Regions from separate parts of the Homo sapiens genome. Here regions 2 and 3 are each linked to region 1. The links are contacts of gene promoters, found by promoter capture Hi-C in human tissues and cell types (Jung and others, 2019). All regions are on one chromosome and are shown on one strand. The core of a region is centred on a gene start or on the middle of the fragment in contact, and the rest is flanking DNA. Distances in the headings are between cores, read along the strand shown.

Region 1 (2,623 bases), core at 89-2,588:
AATATCACTGTAAAAGTAACATGCTACTTAGATGTAAAAGTGACATGCTACTTAGAAACTCTGGTACCTACTGCATTATAAACATAAAGCTCATTTACTGAAACTTACCATACCTTAACTGTCCCTTCTAACCTTCCAATCCAAACAGATTTTAGCATATGTCTTACTATAAAACACTAAGTCACTGTCAAGGACCCCAATTTATACGTAAAGGAGAAAGTATAAAGAATTCAAATATCCCGAGGCAGAAAAACGACAGACAGAATTCACACTCAAGTCTTCCTGACTCCAAAGCCTGAGCTCTTCCCAGTTCGCCAATCTTCCCAACTTGTAAACCTTGTGTTGCCGGCCACATAAAGATCCCGCAAAAATCAATCAACAACTAATTAATGGGGGCTGCCTTTTGCTCTAGCTACTGTGGGAGCCCCAGAAGTAGTACCACAAGGCCCTTGACTTCAAGCTTGCATTCTTCTTGAAGAAGGTATTTAAGAGAATGAGATGAGGAACAAGAACACAGGTAAAATTAGATGTAAAAAAAAAAAAAATAGCTATACTGAGGGACCGGTCAGATGAAGGAAGGGCTGAGATTACTATGGGCTGAAGCTGTCATGGAAGGCCTGGATGGGGAAGGCCTTGAAGGAGATGATTATTTTTCGCTCACTCATTCGTCTATCTACACATAACATCTATGTGGCAGGCACCATTTTAGGTGCACTGGCAAACAAAACCAAGTCCTGAATGTGACTGCTGAATAAAGAGTATAAAGGAATGTGCACAGTGAAGGATTTAAGAACGTGGAAGGATCTGGAATCAGATTACCCTAAGTATAATGCCCAGACCTGCAGCCAGGCACTGCGGGCAAGCTCCACGGAAAACAACTGTTGTCACCCACCCATTCACCCCGACTCCCCAGTTACAGGCACTACTTAGAGGTGGTTATCGAGCCACGCAAATCCCCGAGGACGCTCGAGAAGCACGCGCCGAGAGCGGCTGCGTATTGGAGAGGTGATTCTGTTATCTTGGAGCGCCCCAAAAGAGGGGTGGAGGACAAACGGCGTAGGCCAGGTATCCGTCCGGATGCAGAGCCTTCATCCTGAGGCCGGTCCCCTCTCGACCCAGGAAGAACACAGACACCGATCTTGGCATCCATACCCGGCCCTCCCGCGTTGGGTACCTGCGCCCCGAGCCCGGGGGATCCCAGCCAGTGGAGAAGGGGAAGCACGTGGGAGCACGGAACAACTCCGAAAGAGAAGGCACAGCTGACTGCCCCTAGCGTATGCCTGGTGTCCGGGTCACGTAGTAAGCCTGGCTCCGCGGCACGCGTCCCTCTCAGGAACTGGTAGACAGCACGTGCGCAAGCGCATTAAAGTCGCAGAGATGGCGAGCGAGAAGGGACCTTCCTCAAGGCTGTCGCTGAGTAATGACGTAAGCCACCAGAAGCGGAGCTGAGGCCTAGATGTCCACTGCGGTTGCGCATTTTAGTCCCACTGCTCGCGGTAGCTGGGTGTTGGCTGCGGTTTGCCTCTTCACTCTTCATATCCCAGCTAAAGTACCTCGGCTAAGAAGGGCAAAATAGATGTCCGCACCCCAGGGCCTGCCCACGTAGGTCCAGGGTTTTCAGCGTCAGCCTGGTTACGCGAAACGCGACGGATCCAACGATTTGTGTTCAATTTAACCGATCCCCGTTAAGTTGAGGAAACTCGGCCAACAGACCTATTTTATTGGTTTCGCTTGGCCCTCCACCCCCACAGTACTGATCTTACAGATGGGAATCCTGTAATCTACCCATGACTGCGGCCGCTGTACTTTGCAGGCTCCCATTAGGCCTGTATATGGTCGTCAAATGAAATTACTCCCCCTGGGCTTCCAGTGAACTCCAAGAACATGACTACAGGGACAACCTATACATAGTGTTGCATTCTTGACTTTGGGGCAGATCGCTGAACTTCAAAAAACATTATCAACTGCTTGATGTTTCCTCCTGGATACCGCAAATGTCTGAATCCAAACCCCTTCCCCAGATACACTTTTAATGTCATCAGCAGCACTACCCATTTAATCCAACATCCATCATGAAATTTTTTAGTTCATTCAGCAAAATGTGAATATGCCCACGCACTATTCTGCTCACAAGGGATAGTGTCCAAAATGTTCCTGCCCCTCGTGGTTAATTCTAGGTTAAGTTTTAAATGCTATTAAGCAGAAGTATCCAGTGAGTAAAGTGACTAAGGATACTATTTTAGAAACGAACACTGAAGGCCTCTGACGGGGTGACACTGGATGGAACAAGGACCTGAAATTTAGAAAGAATGAGCCCTGAGAATATGAGTGAAAAACTTCCCCGTGCCAAAGATGTACATACAAAAGCTCCAAGATGGGGGAGTCCTGGCAAAGCAGTCAGTGTGGCCAAAGCAGTGGGCAAGTGAAGGACCAGATTTAGAATTTAATTCTAGTCATGATGAGAAACCACTGGAGTTTGTGGGGGACAGGGAAATGAGAAAATCTGCTTTGCCCTCTTAAAAGGCTTCCTGTTATGCAAAAACTAAATCACAGGAAGGCAAAAGTAGAAAAAGGAGAACAATTATAAGCTATTGTAGTCACCTGTGCTAGGATGGTAGTTGTG
Region 2 (2,623 bases), core at 86-2,585, 850 kb after region 1:
ACAGGATTCCCCGAGAGCCACATACCATTTTACAACAGCCGTCTCCCTCCCGACAGAGAAACAGACATTTTCATCCAAAGTCTTTCCGCCAGTTCTCCCAGTGCGGCGAAGGGAAGCGGGCGGCAGCCACCGTAACGAGAGAAGCCGGCAACAGCCCCGCCGCGCGGCCGCCACGCCTTCCTCCCGCCGCCGCTGGGGACGCGGAGCCGCGGATCACATTTCTCCTCCCCAACAATCACACACACGCACGCACGTCCCCAGAGTTGACACCCTGCAAACCCGCTGCTCCGCGACGCTGGGGACGGGGCCACAAAGCCCGGGACGCGGCCATCGGCTGGGGTGCTCAAGCTGCGTGCCTGCGCGTTTGTTTGTTCCCCTTAATGAAAGGAAAGGGATCTCCGTAGTTACGGCCTAGGACTGCGGAGGGGGAAGAGAGGCTCCCCGTGGGACTAAACAAAACTTCGGTTGCTGGGAAGAGCCGTTGCGCAACCTTGGCAGGGGGAGGGGGGGCCGAGGCCCCCGGGCCCCGGCCAGGCGCGGCTTCCCGGAGGCTACGGCCCCCGCGTCCGGCGGCCCAGGGCCTGGCGTGGCGCCGGCTTCGAGGGAGCGGCTCATACCGGGCCACACTGCAGGGGCTAGGGCGGAAACTGGGAGCACGAGAGCGCTGGGGATGCGGATGGGGCACGGGACGCGCAATGAGTGCGGGCTGCGCCGGAGGTGTCGGGCCAGGCCCGGGTCAGGCTTGGGGTCCGCTGGCCGCGGAGCCCGCAGACGGAGCCGATCCCCCCACCCCGGGGTGGCGGCGCCCCTCGCTCGACTCCCTTACCTTCCTAGAGGCCCGCGCTCTCTCCTCTTCGGGCGGCCGCAGCCCTGAGCATGTCCGGGGTGGGGCGCAGGGCCGTGCCGGGGACCGGGAGCCAGGCGCTTCAGCAGGCGGCACCACCCAGCCCGGGCTCAGCCCCTCTCCGCGGCCGCTGCCATCTTGTCCTGGCGGCTGAGAGGAAACGGCGAAACACCCTCCCCCGACCGCTGCTGCTGCTGCTGCTGCTCTGGCTGCTAAGCGCCGGGCCCGTCTCCCTCATCTTCCTTCCCGGGGATTTGGGGTGGGGACGGCTTGGCTAGGGCGAGGGGTAGTGGGAGGCCGGTCGGCCTCCGGCTACTGGGGCCTACGGGCGACGCAGGGTGCGGGGCCCACGGCGATTGGGGCCCATTCCTGACGCCCCGGCCGGGAGCGGAGAAGGAAGACTGGCGGGAGTGGTGGCGACGGCGGGGCCTGCGGCTTGATCTCCTCAGGTCGCCGCGATGCCGGCAGTCGTCACTGAGGCAGCTGCCACCAGCCGCCCCAGCCTCGGGCCCCTCCTCCGCGCTCGTCGGCCTCGGCCACCGCCTCCGCAGCGCCACCGCCCGCCCGGCAGCGCTGCGCGCCCAGCCCGGGCGGCTCCGCTCCGCTCCGGCCGCGGCGCCTCCGTGAAGCCCCTCCCCGGGGTCCGCCCGCCAGTCCGCAGCCGCGCCCTTGTTGCCCGGAGCCCGCCTGCCAGCCCGTGCGGCCCCAACCCGGAGTCCCGCAAGCCAAGCCTCCCGCGAAAGAAGCATCCGTCAGCCCGGCTCTGCTGTTCTGAACCTCACTCCATGCCCCCTCCGCCAGAAATACACATTTTTAAAAAAGATCCCAATACCCGAAGAAAGGATGAAGATGCGGAAGCAGGATTTTACAGGCCTTTCGAGATCCCGGAACCGTAATTAAGGATCTGTTTCTCGGCATTTGGTCGTTAAAGGTCCCAAAATAAGTAAAGGGGAAATGCTCAAATGAACGACCTCAATCTAAACTAGGTTCTACCCGCTCCCCTATCCCAAAGAGTGAAGAGAATTGTAAAGCCAGGTTCAAGGACGGGGGAAGGGTCCTCTTGGAAATTTTAAGAGCATCTCTACTGTCCAAAACCCCATAATTGTGAAGTTCGCCCACCTCCACATTGGTAATTCTCCGTTAAATTAGTCGGTTTAACTCCCAAAGACTAGTTTCTTTCCTCCTGGAGATTAGGAAATCAACAGAATGGCCTGTTTCAGCTTACATAATCGTGGAACCATAGAATTTTAGGAATGAAAGAAGCTTTGCGATCCTTGGTCCCAACTCTTACACTCAGGAGTTCCAAGAAGTTTAGGTGACATGACCAAGGTTATACAGTAAAGCCCATGTCTCCCACCCCATCTTTCCTCCTTTTCCCTAGGAAACAAATGGCTTTCTAATACCTCACATTCAGAGTTGATTTTCTTTTATACCCGTTTCCTCAGGTTCCCTTTGTTCTGAATCAATGTCTAACCTTTTGGGAAACAAACACCTTTCTGGAATGGAAGTGTCCTTTCTTTGTTTCCTTCATAATCTTCACTAGCAAGATTGAATTTACCAGAGATGTATTTATTCCCAGAAATTTTCTATTGCAGTAACTGGGGCAGGGCAAAGGGAGTGGCAAATTGCTGCATACATAATACACATTTAATCCCTGCTGCTCTTCAAACCGGAAGATGAGTATTTTGGATAATGCCTTTAAGAGACAAAGGAGGCCGGGCGCGGTGGCTCGCACATGTAATCCCAGCACTTTGGGAGGCTGAGGCGGGTGGATCACCT
Region 3 (2,623 bases), core at 93-2,592, 530 kb before region 1:
CTGCAGATAACCTACTATTATATTATTTGCCAACTTGAGGGAATTGCTTAGTTCTATTAATACCAAATGGTCAAATTCAACAATAATTGGATACTCAAAAGTATGAGTTCTGAAGTCCGAACAGACAAATCTGGCCCCAGAATATAGCGCTTGCAGAGGATCTCTCTGATGGTTACTTGCATCAGGAGCATCTCAAGGCTGGCCAAGCCACCCTAACCCCATCCCACCTCCATCTCAGTCCTTCAAAAGATTACTTAATTACCCTGGACTTAAGCCCTCATACAGAAGACAATTAGTCTCTCAGCTTTCAGCAGAAAGAAACTATTACCAAGAAATGCTTATCCGGCCATTACAATATTGTCTCAGACCCTCTGTAATTCATACATATTTACCAAGTGTCTACTAGATGCTGGGCACTTTGCTAGGTGCTGGCGATACAATAGTTAACAAAACATAGACGCTGCCCTACCCTGATGGACTATTCACAAGGACACGGCTTCCAAAATAATAGTGGCTCCTTCCAAAGTCATCTGAGCTCATTCCCCACCTCCTGTTGTGAATGGAATGGGGCAAGAGCAGAGAGAGCCGGGCAACCCTCTCTGGCATTTGAGAATGACCAACCTTGAAAAGAATTTCAGCTAGGCTTAAAAGCAGGACCAATCCTCTTCTCTCCGGCAACCCCATGCCCTTGCCTTCACAGAAAACTCTGACTAGGACGTGGAGTTGGCAGAGAGGATAATGCTTCTGAGTTTCACAAAGCAGCCTGAGCCAAAACCAATCTCCACTCAGGGCAGAATAAAGCAGTGGGTTGTCTGGATGGCTGAATGTCTCTCTCTGAGACAATGGTGTGTTTATGTGTAGGAGGGTCAGGAGCAGGTTGTTAACATAAAACCCACCGTAAACAGAGCTGTTAATTCAGTTGCTGGCAGGGGCTTCTGTTATCTTCTGAATACCTCCCAGAGGGTATAAGCCCTACCTTTTCATTTGAGTTGGCAGCAGAGTTATTTTTTTGCACCTGTTGCTCTGCTCCGATAACAACGCAGTTAAGCATTGATTTGTAGGAAAATAAACAGAAAAAAGCAAAGAAAGGCATCTGCCCAAACAGCCTGAGCTGGTTTGACTGAGTGTTCATGCCAATTTGTTTTTCCTATAAAAACCAAAGAAAAACCTGCGTTTTCAGTTTGGATGCTACATTTTCACTCCCTCAATATAAAAGGGGGTATCAAATAGGCCAGAGGGAGATGGCAAGGCTGAGAAGCCAGAAGACGTTGTACTTTTCCATTGGCTGGTTCTGTGAGGGCACTCAGGGGTGTCCATGGTCTGCAAAGTGACATGGCCAGCCTCCAGCCAGCCCAGGTTCAGATCATGAATCAGATTAACAAGGGCAGAGAAAAGACTGCTGGGATACGATCGAAACCAAAACCACACTCTTCTAAATGGTTGACTTCCAAAAGTCAATACAGTTTAGGGAGTAGGTGTAGTCTCTAGGTTACCTCCTAAAGTGGAGGCTCAGTGTACCCAGATCTCAGTCAAGCCTCTCCCCCAGACATCCTACATCCAGCCCTGGGCAAAAAGCATAATTTGAAAACCCCTGGTTCCCGGACCACAGTTTTCCCATCGCATAAATGAGGCTAGCCACACCTACCTCAAAATCGGGCTGTGTAGACCCACTCATCTCCTGCCAAGAGATTTGAGGCCTCAGGTCCCAGGTGGAAAGGGCCTGAGATGTCCTAGATGTGATTTCTGTCCTAATCCAAGCATCATCACATGCTCACTTCTCATTAATTTGTCAATGTCACATGATAAGCTAAGTCCAAAAAGGGCCACAAGGAGCTAAACAAATCGCCCAAATGGAGATCATGAACAACATTAATTAAGCAATGGCATCAGCACTCAGCCTTCAGCACACACAGTCAGAGGGAGCTTTTGAATATCTCTTTTTGGCCGGGCGCAGTGGCTCATGCTTTTAATCCCAGCACTTTGGGAGTCCGAGGCGGGCATATCACTTGAGGTCAGGAGTTCAAGACCAATGTAGTTAATATGGTGAAACCCCGTCTCTACTAAAAATATACAAATTAGCCAGGCATGGTGGCATGTGCCTGTAGTCCCAGCTACTTGGGAGGCTGAGGCAGGAGAATCACTTGAACCCAGGAGGTGGAGGTTGCAGTGAGCCATGACTGTGCCACTGCACACCCAGCCTGGGCAACCAAGTAAGACTCCATCTCAAAAATAAAAATAAAAATAAAATAATATAATATCTCTTTTTAAGCTTTGTAGAAGAAAGCACAGTCAAGGCAACATGCAACATTTCCCCAGACAAACACCTTGCCCCAGTGTTCTCCGGGCCGTTGGGGGTTCATTACTACCAGACCACTGGCTTCATGGGGGAGGGGGGCTTATGGCAGTGGGGCCTCAGAAATGTTGCCTCTCCAGGAGCATTAAGAACTGGGTGTTCCGACAGGGGAGGGATATGGCTGACTGAGCGTTCCCAGGCATTCTTGTTATGAGCAGCGTAGGGAGTGGAGTGCTTAGAACCAAATCGGGCAGCAGAAAAATAAAAGATTTAACAACACCCTTAGTTGACTGATAAATAAGACCAACTGTGCAGGAATGTAGGAAGGGT

What was found. Contacts are between HindIII fragments. The study calls those that stand out against the background at their distance.
Region 2: the fragment with the promoter of HIPK3 here is called in contact with the fragment with the promoter of NAT10 in region 1 in 1 of the 25 tissues and cell types used here (aorta).
Region 3: a fragment that was not itself captured here is called in contact with the fragment with the promoter of NAT10 in region 1 in 1 of the 25 tissues and cell types used here (aorta).

Annotation. Positions count from the first base shown.
Region 1 is chr11:34,104,344-34,106,966 of GRCh38, reverse strand. It overlaps NAT10 (N-acetyltransferase 10), which reads right to left and starts at 1,338. Exons shown (of 29, transcript NM_024662.3): 1 at 1,175-1,338. RefSeq lists an enhancer at 1,126-1,585. The HindIII fragment of the contact is 6,988 bases long and covers 1-2,623 here.
Region 2 is chr11:33,256,093-33,258,715 of GRCh38, reverse strand. It overlaps HIPK3 (homeodomain interacting protein kinase 3), which reads right to left and starts at 1,335. Exons shown (of 17, transcript NM_005734.5): 1 at 827-1,335. RefSeq lists an enhancer at 1-40 and silencers at 381-580, 651-990, 1,251-1,580. The HindIII fragment of the contact is 7,361 bases long and covers 1-2,623 here.
Region 3 is chr11:34,630,651-34,633,273 of GRCh38, reverse strand. The region is part of intron 1 of EHF (ETS homologous factor); the gene reads right to left. Among named protein-coding and RNA genes, the nearest start is that of EHF, 11 kb to the right of the region's middle. The HindIII fragment of the contact is 3,664 bases long and covers 1-2,623 here.